2 separate regions of the Homo sapiens genome follow, and region 2 is linked to region 1. Evidence: promoter capture Hi-C in 16 types of primary human blood cells and fetal thymus (Javierre and others, 2016). All regions are on one chromosome and are shown on one strand. The core of a region is centred on a gene start or on the middle of the fragment in contact, and the rest is flanking DNA. Distances in the headings are between cores, read along the strand shown.

Region 1 (6,526 bases), core at 3,935-6,434:
TCTAGCCTACCCTTGTGCCGTCCTCTCCAACATCCATCCACCTGACAGATGGATGACCCTTCCTCTTCCCCAGGGGTTGTTTTGATGAGTAGATGACATTTCTAAAGAGCGCTTAGTGCACTGCCTGACACCTGGTAAGTGGTCAAGATGGGGAGAACTGATTGTTTCTACTATTCTTTCCCTCTCACAGTGGCCACCGCAGCGCTAAACACGGTCGGTCGGCATTCAGTGCTCGCCGTGGAAGCGAACCGCAGGAGCATCCTGGGGCAGCGGGGAGTTGCTGCACTCACCTAGACAGGCGGCCTACTGTGACTTCAGGCAAGTCATTTTCCTTCTCTGTGCCTCAGTTTCTTTGTCTGCAAAATGAGCAGCTGGACTAGAAACTTACCATTCTTTCACAGCACGTCAAACTCAACATGCCCATTTGAGCTGAAGACACTGAGGCTACTCACTGGGTGTGAACCTTTGACAGCATCCAGGCCCTGCACAGTTGTCTAGGAGAAGCCTGACCCATGATGTCCTTTCCGCTACCCACCTGCCACGAGCCCCAGTTCTGAGCTGGAGGGGTGGGGGTGGGTGGAAGGTGGATAGTGGTCAGTGCCTCACCTGGCCGACTGCAGCCTGGCAGAGTCCATGGGGGACCTCGCAGCACAGTGGATCCTCTTGCCTTGTGTCTCTAGTTGGTCCAGCTCTGGTCTATTCCATGCTATTCCGTTGTCATGGGCAGGACTGGGTTTGATGAAGTTGGACCTAGGTGTATCCCAGCCTCTCCTGGTTTCTGTCGTCTTTCTGTGGTGCCCAGGGCTTATGTTTCTATCTCTTTGAATGTTGAGTTTACTCCGTCCTTCAGGGATCAGGGCTGCCTGAGCTCAGGGTGGAGGTGCTGTTGTCTGTCTGGCTTCCGGGCCCTGGACTGGCAGTGTCCCCCAGCACCCCTGTCCAGCTATGCCAAGCCCCCTCCTTTTCTTTCTTGGCCTCTGCCCTATTTGTTCTGTGACTGGCCCAAGAGAGGGGTGTGGGCTGGCAGGTGTCCCACATAAAGCCTGGAGGCAGCATCCAGGCCTGGCTGACTTACCCCGGGGCCCCCTGCCTACTGCCCCCAGCCAAGCTGGGTCTCCTTCTTCCTGCCCAGCTGAGGCAGGGCCTAGAAGGGCACCGAGGCAGGCCCTCTGTGATGCTCCTGTTGCTATGGTAATTCTAGATGAGAAGGCCATAGCATTCTGTGTCTGGCACCCCCGCGCATCTCCCCAGCTCTGCCCTGCTGCCCCAAGAGATGGCTCTCTGCTGGGGAGCTCGAGAGCTTGGAATCTGCTGCAGTCAAAGTTTCTTCCATGCGGCCAGGCACAGTGGCTCATGCCTGCAATCCTAGCACTTTGGGAGGCCGAGGCGGGTGAATTACTTGAGGTCAGGAGTTCAAGACCAACCTGGCCAACATGGTGAAACCCCATCTCTACTAAAAATACAATACTTAGCCGGAAATCACTTGAACCCAGGAGGCAGATGTTGCAGTGAGCCAAGATCATGCCACTGCACTCCAGCCTGGGTAACAAAGCGAGACTCCGTCTCAAAAAAAAAAAAAAAGTATCTTTCATGCAGGCCCCATCCTTTGGACCTCCCTTCAACCCCAAGAGAGACCACTACCCTAGCAGGTAAGACTCTACCTCTCAGAAACTGACCTTTACTGTAGAGCTGATAGTGGGAAAGGGCTCAGGATCCAAAATCAAAAGACCTAGATCCTAGTCTCAAGCCATTTATAGCTGTGTGACCTTGGACAAGGCAGGCCTTGAGCTTCAGTGTCCTCCTTTGTAAAATGTGGATAAACATGCGATACTGAATCATCCTTCAGGAATAGCTCTATGACTTTCCGTAGGTTGTTCCCCTGATGTGTAATGCTCTTCCATTCTTCTCAGCTCCATGAACTCCTACTCATGCTTCAAGACCCAACCGAAATGCCCCATTGTCTGTAAAAATTTCCCTGACCTCTGTGCACTTGGCACAGATCTTAGGCCTTGCCATTCTGTGTTAGAGTTGTTATTTAAGTGTTTCCAAATTTTTTGACTATGAATACGTACAGGCAGGAATCAGATTAGGCTCAGTTCTGGAAGGAGAAATGGTTTGGCGAATATTTTCTTTGCGGAACGGAAAGCAGAAGAGGGCGACCTTGACTGGGTTGGGTGCCATCTCTGCAGGGGTCAATCCTGGGACTCTTGTTCCAGGCATGGCTTGGGTCAATCAGCACTCATGACTTTGCTGTGTGCCTGAGCCGTGCCTGGCTAACTGGGGACATTTTCATAGCTGAGACCCAGTAGGAGAGACCATGACTTGTGCCAGGGTGTGCCTGTCTCAGCTCTGGGGCAGGGCCAGGAGCAGCTGCTCATGGGATGTCTCTGGGGACATGCTGGGGCCTCTGGGAGGGGAAGGGAGACTGGCCATGCACTGTCTATGGTCCTGGTGGTACTCCTGGGATATTGCCAAGGAGCCTGCGGTTCAGGGAACAGGGAGGAGGGACTCTAGTGTCTCCAACTCCCTCTCATGGCTCTATGGCTGCTGGTCGGGGTCAGGGAGATGAAGCAGTGCCAGCTCCGTGGTCTGCACTGATCCTGACCAGTGAACCAGGCTTCCCCAGCCAGAGCCAGCTAGTCAAGCACGCTCTCTAGTGGCCACCACAGGGAAGGCAAGAACTTGTCTCCACAAAGGCAGGATTTTCATTTATTCCTTCAGAGAGTACAGAATGAGCATCAATGTTCCAGGCATGGTGCCAGGCATGTGTGTTAACTTTAGTTAAAACATACTTATTGGCCGAGTGTGGCGGCTCACTCCTGTAATCCCACCACTTTGGGAGGCCTAGGTGGGAGGACTGCTTGAACTTAGAGCTCAATACCAGCCTGGGTAATGTAGTGAGACCCTATCTCTATAAAAAAAAAAAAAATAGCTGGGTGTGGTGGTGTGCGTCTGTAGTCCCAGCGACTTGGGAGGCTGAGATGGGAGGATTGCTTGAGCCTGGGAAGTGGAGGTTGCAATGAGCCAAAATCACACCCATTGCACTCCAGCCTGGGTGACCTTGTCTCAAAAATATAGTTATATATTTACTTATATATTTATATGTATAAATATATGTGTACATACAAATATATTTGTAATATTATAGACATATTAATACATATTTACATATGTTAATATATAAATATATATAATATATATTTATCATCTTCTAAATGGAAAGCTCTTGAGTTTCAGGATGTGTTGGTTGGGAAGGGAATACAGGATAGGGAAATAATCCATTAAGCAATGACTCAGCACAGGCCATAAAATCAGAATCACCTGGAGAACTTGAACAATCCCAACACCTGGGGTCCATCCAGACCAATCAAATCAGAATTCGTAGGGGTCAGGCACAGGCACCAGTGGTTTGGAGAGTTGACGGACACATGTCCCATCCATCATTCTCATTCGGCTGCCAAGGTAGGCATCGTTGTCCCATTTTGCATATGAGGAGACTGAGGCTGAAGTGAACCTGCTTCTTTCCCCATATCAGTTGAGGACAGCGATGGGGCAGCGGGGAGGCAGTAAATACTCCTACAAGGCTGCCTCTAAAGAGAGTCTTATAATAACAACAGCTTTATTGTTTGCCATGATTAGAAAAGTATTCAAGGTCATTGCGAAATAGTGTTTTTTTTTCTAGGCAGATAATTATATAAAGGCAAAAATGGTGTGTGGGGGTGGGGGACAAGGGGAGGGAGAGCATTAGGACAAATACCTAATGCACGCAAGGCTTAAAACCTAGATGATGGGTTGACAGGTGCAGCAAACCACCATGGCACACGTATACCTATGTAACAAACCTGCACATCATGTATACCTATGTAACAAACCTGTACATTCTGCACACGTATCCCAGAACTTAAAGTGAAAAAAAAAGTGGTGTGTAGAAAAATCACCTGCAATCTCAGCATAGTTAACGCTTAGTACATTTCAGAGAGAGAGGGTGACAGGAAAGGGAGGATGAGAGTGGGTTTAAGACACAAGGTCATATTATAAAATCAGGGCTTCTGGAAGTTTAGTCCCAAAACCACACATCTCATAATCCCCTGCAGTGCTTGATTAAAATGCAACATCCCTAAGGCCACAGACTCAGACTCTGGAGAAAGATCCAGAAAACTGCCCGTTTAATAAACATTTGGGCGATTCTTACGGCCTCTAAAGACCAAGAACCACTGCTGCCTAGAGCTCTGCTCTCTTCATTGAACAATACAAGAGGAGTGTGTAGGTAGACACCCACCACTTCCAACAGCTTAGGAGAGCCCTTGAGTATGGATTGATGTATTAAAATTTATTGAATCACATGCTGAGATTTTCACCAGCTGCCCGTGGGGATCTGGGCATTTATTCCCATATTGCACTGGCTGGCTGGAAGCCAGCAGCATAAACTCCAGGGCTGTTCTGTCAACCCCCACCAGACTCACCCCCCTCCACCAGCCCCGGCAGGCTTCTCCTTCCATCTCTCTGAAGCAACTTACTGATGGGCCCTGCCAGCCAATCACAGCCAGAATAACGTATGATGTCACCAGCAGCCAATCAGAGCTCCTCGTCAGCATATGCAGAATTCTGTCATTTTACTAGGGTGATGAAATTCCCAAGCAACACCATCCTTTTCAGATAAGGGCACTGAGGCTGAGAGAGGAGCTGAAACCTACCCGGGGTCACCACACACAGGTGGCAAGGCTGGGACCAGAAACCAGGACTGTTGACTGCAGCCCGGTATTCATTCTTTCCATAGCCCACAGGGCTGTCAAAGACCCCAGGGCCTAGTCAGAGGCTCCTCCTTCCTGGAGAGTTCCTGGCACAGAAGTTGAAGCTCAGCACAGCCCCCTAACCCCCAACTCTCTCTGCAAGGCCTCAGGGGTCAGAACACTGGTGGAGCAGATCCTTTAGCCTCTGGATTTTAGGGCCATGGTAGAGGGGGTGTTGCCCTAAATTCCAGCCCTGGTCTCAGCCCAACACCCTCCAAGAAGAAATTAGAGGGGCCATGGCCAGGCTGTGCTAGCCGTTGCTTCTGAGCAGATTACAAGAAGGGACTAAGACAAGGACTCCTTTGTGGAGGTCCTGGCTTAGGGAGTCAAGTGACGGCGGCTCAGCACTCACGTGGGCAGTGCCAGCCTCTAAGAGTGGGCAGGGGCACTGGCCACAGAGTCCCAGGGAGTCCCACCAGCCTAGTCGCCAGACCTTCTGTGGGATCATCGGACCCACCTGGAACCCCACCTGTGAGTACAAGGTGCCCCAGGTGGACTGGGCTGGGGCTTTGAGGCCTTCAGGGTTGGATGGCCATCTTGCGTATTTGTGTGGGATATGCACACACAGGCAGCACATGCGCAGGTGTGTGGGCACCTGTGTGTCTGTGCAAATGCCCTGAGGTGGGAATGAGCTTGGTGTGCATCAGGCACAGCCAGCCAGTGTGGCTGCAGCAAAACACACAGGGAAAGAATGGAGGGGGCATCAATCACTGCTTCAGTAAATTTTTATTGAGCGCCTTCTACGAGAACACAAGAGGAGCTTCCATTCTGAGGAGGAAACAGGCAGGAAACAGGCAGATATCCTGTATAATTTCAAGTAGTGATAAGTGCTCTCTAGAAATATCAAGCAAGGTGAGGAGACACAGAGCACCGGTGGCAGTGGGGCTCTATTTCCAGGTTGGATGGTTGGGAACATCCTTTCTAAAGGGAACCTGGAGTGGGAAGGAACCATGCAGGTATCTCAGGAAGAGCTTCCTCCAGGCAGGAAGATCAGCAGGTGGAAAGGCCCTGGAGCCACCATTCAGTAAACATCATTTGAGCATCTCTACCAGCTAGGTTCCATTATGGGAATGGGAATATGGTGGTGGACAGGGCTGCCTGGTCCCTTCCATACTTCTCACACTAGGGTGGTTGAGAGAGCTTGGGAGCTAACGAACAAGATGGGCTGAGAACACTGCCTAGCCCAGAGGACCTGAGCTTAGTGTGTAGACATTGCTGCTGTTACTGCCTTTGTCATTGTATTATTTATTTATTTATTTATTTATTTTTAGACAGAGTTTTGCTCTTCTTACCCAGGCTGGAGTGCAATGGCGTGATCTCAGCTCACTGCAACCTCCACCTCCTGGGTTCAAGCGATTCTCCTGCCTCAGCCTCCTGAGTAGCTGGGATTACAGGCACCCGCACCACGCCTGGATAATTTTTTTGTATTTTTAGTAGAGACAGGGTTTCACCATGTTGGCCAGGCTGGTCTCGAACTCCTGACCTTAGGTGATCCACCTGCCTCGACTTCCCAAAGTGCTGGGATTATAGGCATGAGCCACTGCGCCCAGTGATTATAGAAAGTTAAAGGCACATGGCAATGCACACGCCTATCTACGTCTTCCCTGCCAAAGCAAAGGGCAGCCTCTGGGCTCACTTTCTTGCGTTTCTACTTCCAAAAGGCAGTCAGAACTGGCAGGGCCTTGGAGACCACTTCATCCACCTCCTAGGGTCCCTATGGGAGAGTTGAGGTCCAG
Region 2 (6,526 bases), core at 1,543-4,042, 39 kb before region 1:
TCTTTGTCAACCACCCCTTCCAGCCCAGGGCTGAGGGCTGTGTTTGGCACATGCAGTAGGTGCTCAGCACACAGTAGGTGGTCAGCGTCTTTGTCTAACAGGTGACTGTAAATGCATCAGGGTTGAGTCCCACTTGTATTAAGTGAAGCCTATTCCAATGGCCCTACCTCAAAGGTCACTGAATGATCAGAGGAGGTGTGGGTAAAACCTTGACACCTCGGATGCACTCAAGCAGGAGCTGCCTTCACTGATACAGTTAATGCGAATTCTGCCCCTTTCAGGGTGGACCAGAGAGGAAGGATGAGGCCAGGGCAGGCAGGGCTGAGGCAGGAAGATTCTGCAAACAGCTTGGACAAGACAGACCCACTTCCTGTCCCCCTGGACTTGGTGGGGAGCAGTCCCAGCTCTCCCCTGGCCTGCCTTGTGACCTCAGGCAAACACCCCCTTCTCTGGGCCTCAGGACCCTCCCTTCCCTGAAGCTGAAGACCCTGGAGGTGGTGTGAGGCCTCATTCCGCCCCCACCCACACTCTCCACTCCAAAGTGGACCCTGGAGAGGGAAGGGAGGGCGAGGGCCCGGCCAGCGGTGTTTTGTGCCAAGACAGCACCTCTGGACTCGCTCACTCAGCAAAAGCTGGAGGCTCCTGAGCCAGCAGCTTCTGAGCCGCAGCAACCAGGGCTGGGGATGGGGGGCTGGGCGGGCCACTGATATCAGTGAGGGAAGTTGGGGGGAGGGGCTCAGGGAGGCTGCACCAGAGGGGGAAGGCAAGGCCAAGGAGAAAGTGGGACTCAGGACGGCTGAGGCAGAGGGAGGAGTGAGAGGCAAGTCTGTGGACCAGTCTCCCCTCCCTGTCCTCAGGACCTTGGGAAGGTCACCAAGCAGCCCCTGAGCCTCAGTTTCTCCCTTGGTTAACACACAGAAAATGGGCCCCCAGAGACTCCTGCAAGGAGCCCACTTCCAGCAATGAGTCCCTTCACACAGCCCGGTCCAGCTGCCCAGCCCCACCTGCCCTCTGCTCTGGAACCGGCCCAGAGTGTGGCCTCAAGGCTCCTCAAGCTGGGTCCTGCCTGGCAGGGATGTGGGTCTTGAGGATTAAGGTGGGGACACATATCCATCACTCCATCAACAGTGTCTATGCCAGACAGGGCTCTCTCCTAATACTCCTGTTTGGGGAAGTCTTGTTGGCAAGGGTTCCCCGCAGCCTGAGAGCTATGGCGGAGCCCTGGGCTGGGGTCTGTGCCCTGGGGACTCACTCTGCCAGACTCTTCCACAGGTCTCTGACCACGCTGTCTCCTTTAAAATTCTCTCAACAGCAGCTGGGTGCAGTGGCTCACGCCTGTAATCCCAGCACTTTGGGAGGCTGAGGCAGGTGGATCACCTGAGGTCAAGAGTTCGAGACCAGCCTGGTCAACATGGTGAAACCCCATCTCTGCTAAAAATACAAAAATTAGCCGGGCCAAGATTGTGCCACTGCACTCCAGCCTGGGTGACAGAGCGAAACTCTGTCTCAAAACAAACAAACAAACATAAAACTCTCTCAACAGCACTCGTGGTATTGTCCCATTCTACAGATGAGGGGACGGAGGCTCACAGAGTGAAGGGACTTGTCAGGGGTCACGCAGCTGGTCAGTGACAGTGCTGGGACAGGTGGCCAGGTCTTCAAGCCCAGGCCCAAAGCTTCCCCGCTGCAGGGGAAGGGCAGGTGGGTGCGGAGTGTGAGTGTTGGAATCGGCGCATCTGCTTCAAGATAAAGCGCTGCTGGGCCCAGGGAGACTCGGAGGCTCCTCTTTGGCTGCAGTAGGGAAATCTGACCCAATTCTGGCCCGAACTGGCTTCTCAGACTCTGCGCAGGCCCAGAAACCCCCTTTCCAGAAGGCAGGGCCTGGGCAGGGGGAGCTGTGGCAGAGAGAACAGGCCAGATGGGGCAAGCCTGGGGTCCATGTCAGCCTCTGACCTGGGGTACACATGAGCCCCTGAGAATGCTACTGAAATTTTCTGAACCTGCTTCTGCACCTGAGGGATAGGAGCTGAAATCCTGCAGGAGGTGCTCTAAGAATCAAGAGCTCTAAGAGCAGTCCTGACCTGGTGCTGGGTGAATCATGTTCAATCCACAGCCATGTTTGGCTGAGACACTCACGAAGCCTGCCTGGGCTCTGGGTCCCACAGCTTAAACTGGAGGCCTGTGGACCCTTGCCAAGAAGACTTCCCCGAACAAGGGTATTGAGAGCCCTGTCTGGCACAGACACTGTTGATGGAGTGATGGATATGTGTCCCCACCTTAATCATCATGGCCCAAGTCCTCAGGTAGGACAGGATGGCCATAGTCACTCAGGCTGGGCTGGGGGCTGCTCACTGCAGGCCAAGGGCAAGAGGTGACAGCACAGGACAGGACAGAGGACTCTTGCAATTGCCTATGCCCTGACCGAGGAGAACCAGGCTGCCGGCCCTCCCATGGGGGCCGAGCTTCATCCACCAGTGTGGTCTGGGCCTCTGGCCACAGTGAAAGACTAACTCTCTCTCCTGCTGGTCCCAAGCACATAGGCTGGAGGTGTGGCTGGCTGACCTCACCATTTTCCCAACAGGCTCTCATTTTTGCCTTGTGGGGCAGAGTGGGGACAGGGCCCAATTTTGTAGCCAGAGGAAACAGTGGTCCAGGAGGCCTGTGACAGAGTCTGTGACATCCTTCCCATCACCCCCAGTAGAAGAGCCCAAGGCCAAATCCCAATGGCAAGAAGTGTGGGAACATGGGAACAGTGGGACCACCCAGTAGCCACCAACTCCCCAACGCCAAAGGTGGCAGGAGCAGGAGGGAAGAAGGGCCTGACCTGCCCTTGGAGGGTAGCCAGAATCTGCAGACCCTCTTCCTCCTCATTTCCAGGCTGCAAGGCCAACTCCTGAGACTCAGAAATTTCAAAGAAGGGACCCTGGGCTCCTCGGGTCCAGCCCAAGCCAGAATCTCCAATCTCACACACACTTTAGCCTCCCAGACCAGAGGCCTGAAAACCTGGCTGTGAACACCCAAGTCAGTGGTGAACTCAGTCGTGGGGCAAGCAGGGACCACTTAATGTTCTGCTGCCCAGCGTCCCTACCCTCCTCAGTCCGGGTCCACCGCTCTCTGTACAAACCTCCTCAGTCCCCGTTCCCTGCAGAAACAGAGCCCAGCATCTGAGATGAGCCACAGATGCCTCTGGAAAGGAGCCTGTTCAGAGGGTAGGAGTCAAGGTCAGAGGTAGATGGGGCACCCAGCCAACATCCCCCATCCCAAAGCCAGCTCCCACTGCCGAGAGGCCCAGGCAGTTCATACAGGAAAGGCCCCACGGGTCACTTCCCCAGGAAACACACAACCAAAAGAAAATGCAGTAACCACAATCCTCACCCCACCAGGCCCACCCTAGGAGGGCCAGCAGGGCTCTTGCCCCGACCCACAAAATAAGAAGGAGACCTAGACTCCGTGGCCCTCGGTCTCTCAGTGTCCCCAAGCCAGCAGGGCCTGGCCAGTGGCCAGACCAGCCTATTCCTCAACCAGTGCCCAAGATGACCCTGTCCAGTTACCTCCTGGAACTAAAGACCCCTGTTGGTCATGGGCACAATGGATTCATTCAATAAGCAGGGGAGGGGACAGCAAGGGTGGTTCTGAAACTGGACGAAGGAGACGGCTGGGAGGGCACACTGGGACCACTCAGCGGGCTGCCAGGGCCCAGGCCTCTAGGGAGGCTGCAGAAACCCCGACCCAGGGCCTGGCTCCCCGGGGCGGTGCCTTGGCACAGGGGCCTGTTCAGATTCACGCTCAGCCTTTGCGGTGACACTGAGGGGACGGAGGCTCACAGCCATGTGATTAACATCCAGGGACCAAGGGAGTCCCAGGAAAGGGTTGGTGGGCCAGCTCTCAGGCCAGCCTGCAAGCCCAGCAAAGCTTGGCTCCCCTAGAGAGCGGCCAAGTCTTCAGCCCCAAACCCACAAGCATGTCAGGTTCCCAAGCGCTAGGCCACATCCACGCCAGCCCACCACTCCACAGGTGTCATGGCCTGGAAGCTCGGGACAATTGCAGGGAGATGCGCTCCTCCACCTGGTTTCCAGATGAGGCCCCTGAGGTTCAGAGAGGGATGGTGACCTGGCCAGAATGCACAGCAAGGAAGTGGCAGGATGGGAACTGAATGCAGAGTACAGGCATAGCGTATCACGTGGCCTGTCACCCAGAGGAAAGGGGATGAATGGCGGTTTTGGAGAAGTGAGGCAAGAGGCAGATGGGGTTTGAGGAAGTCTGAGACAGCGCCCAAGTACTGGAGGTGCCACCCAAGAATGCTGTACAGCCAGGCAGGACCTGGGCTAAGAGGGGACAGCAGAGGGGACACACAGAAACAAAGATGGGAAGGGGGAATTGTGGGAGGAACAGGGGCTGGATGGGGGGGCAGGAAAAAGCAATAACAATAATTAAGATAATTCAAAACTAAGGAAAAGGTGAAAGCTGAGAACAGCGGTACCCATGCTGGGAGTGAGGAACTGGGAGGGGGTCTTTCAGGGACAGGAAAGTGGGTGGCTGAGGCATCTGGGAAGTGGCACGTCCCGTAGGCAGCTGAGGGGGAATAGGCAGGATGGGGTGACGCTGTCGAGTGGCACTGGTTTCGGGGAGCAGCTGCAGCCTGAGCCTGGATGAGGGGCTGTCAGGGAGGACAAGGGCTTGAGAGCCAGAAAGGACGAGAGTGTTGGACACCAGAGCCGAAGAGTGTCTGGGACCCGGGGATGAAAGAGATCGTCATGAGTCTCACTGAATTGGGCCAGGAACCAATGAGCTCAAGTCAAGGAGGGGACAAAGGGACAGGTGGGAACCAAGGTGGGCCTGGGCCACAGGGGAAGGGGAGCCAGAGTAGGGAGAAGGGCACAACAGCATGTCCTAGTAGAGACCATGGAGGAGGAGTGGGGGAGAAGGTCAGGAACAGCTGGGGATGGGAAGCAGATCAGAACACCTAAAGCAGGTGAGTCAGGCCACGCCTCCGCCGGCCATAGCCCCAGGCCACCAGGCCAGTCCAGCCCACCCCTGGCGGGGGAATCCAGCCCTGTCTCTCCATGGGAGCCAGCACAGGGCCTAGGAGGGGGCGCATCTCACTACTCTTCTACAGGGCTGGGCACGCAGTACATCCTCAAATGCGCCTGTGGCGACCCTGCCCATTCAGTCCAAGAATTGACACCGAAGACCTCCAATAGCTAGTGTGTATACTGAGCACCCATTATGTGCCAGGCACCCCACCAGCCATGATCCATCCAATCTGCACGACCAGGCAGCCCCCTTCTTACCATATCCTATTTTGATTTGCATCTCCCTCCCGCTACCTCATTTCCAAAGACCTATTGGGCATAAATCATGTGCAGAGCTCGGAGGGTCTAGGACAAGCAGGATTCTAATGAGGATGTCTGCCCCCAACACCCATGTCCTGATTAAGGAACAGCAGGAAAGATCTCCACCTGTTGAGGGGTAGAGTAGGCAGTTAGATCACGGAGGGCTTCCAGGGAGCAGCAACAGTGAGGGTTATACAACCCCTTCCCAATGAAGAGGCCTGTGTGCCTGACCTGGAGCCCTCGGGCCATACTTCAGACTCTTGTCTCACGGCCTCTAGTCCCCTGTGACTTGGGCCTTACAGGCAGGAGCCCACAGATCCATGCCCTTAGAATAGCCAAGGCCCAGGGCAGTGAAGTGACTTGCTCAGGATCACACAGCCAGTTGATGGCCCCTACAGCCCTGCCTGCCGCAAAAACATGCTCCCCAACCCCTGGGAGGTTGGAGTGGTCTCATCTCATTCCTGGGCCATCCATCAATGCCTGGCCCTCTCTAGCCATAGGTATGATGAGCCCCGTCTCTGGGGAAACTGAGACCAGGGGGCTGGAACAGTGTCATGCAGAAACTTGAACGCTGGCTTCTGCTGACCAAGTCCCAAGTGTCCAGCACCATGTTAGATACAGAAGTACTCAAGACGCTGTCCTCACCTCGTCACCTTGGAGCAGGCTTGGCACCCAAAACTATGAATGTGTGAAACTGTGGGGAATCGGAAGGGGGACAACCCAGTTTGGAGGGGCACCTAAAGTCAGACTGGAGCTGCCTCTGGGTTTGGAGTTCAGGGCCCATGCTCAGGAGTCCCAAAGAAGAGGACCCACCCAGGCTGTGGCAGAGTCCAGCCACTGCCGCCCACCCCAGAAGAGTAGCCCAGGGCTGGAGCCATGACCAGGACCTGGCCATTAACAAAGCACAGCCACCAAGAGAAAGATCTCAGTTCATTTCACAGGTGAGGAAACGAAGCCCAGAAACATCACTGGCCCCGCTGGGGTCACCAACTCCTAATCCCAGCTCCTCCTGTTCTAGGATCAACAGTCCCAAATATACACCTGCCAGAGCTGTCATCAGACTTGGTCAGAGTAACCTGGCAAGTATGACTCTGAACAGGACACCTCCCAACTGCTGCTGGGGTCTGGGTGAGCTCCTAGGACACCAGGCACCCAGTGGGGGCTAGCAGCTTGGCCCCTGACTCTAAATCCCT

What was found. The method cuts DNA at HindIII sites, captures the fragments that hold promoters and counts their contacts. A CHiCAGO score of 5 or more calls a contact.
Region 2: a contact is called between a fragment that was not itself captured here and the fragment with the promoter of BEST1 in region 1, in 8 of 17 cell types (erythroblasts, neutrophils, M1 macrophages and 5 more). The highest score is 9.6, in erythroblasts.

The regions. Positions count from the first base shown.
Region 1 is chr11:61,945,167-61,951,692 of GRCh38, forward strand. BEST1 (bestrophin 1) reads left to right here and starts at 5,185. Exons shown (of 11, transcript NM_004183.4): 1 at 5,185-5,261. It also overlaps a transcript of RAB3IL1 not described here. RefSeq lists a silencer at 883-1,046. The HindIII fragment of the contact is 17,311 bases long and covers 1-6,526 here.
Region 2 is chr11:61,908,512-61,915,037 of GRCh38, forward strand. The region is part of intron 1 of RAB3IL1 (RAB3A interacting protein like 1); the gene reads right to left. Among named protein-coding and RNA genes, the nearest start is that of RAB3IL1, 5.8 kb to the right of the region's middle. The HindIII fragment of the contact is 2,236 bases long and covers 1,675-3,910 here.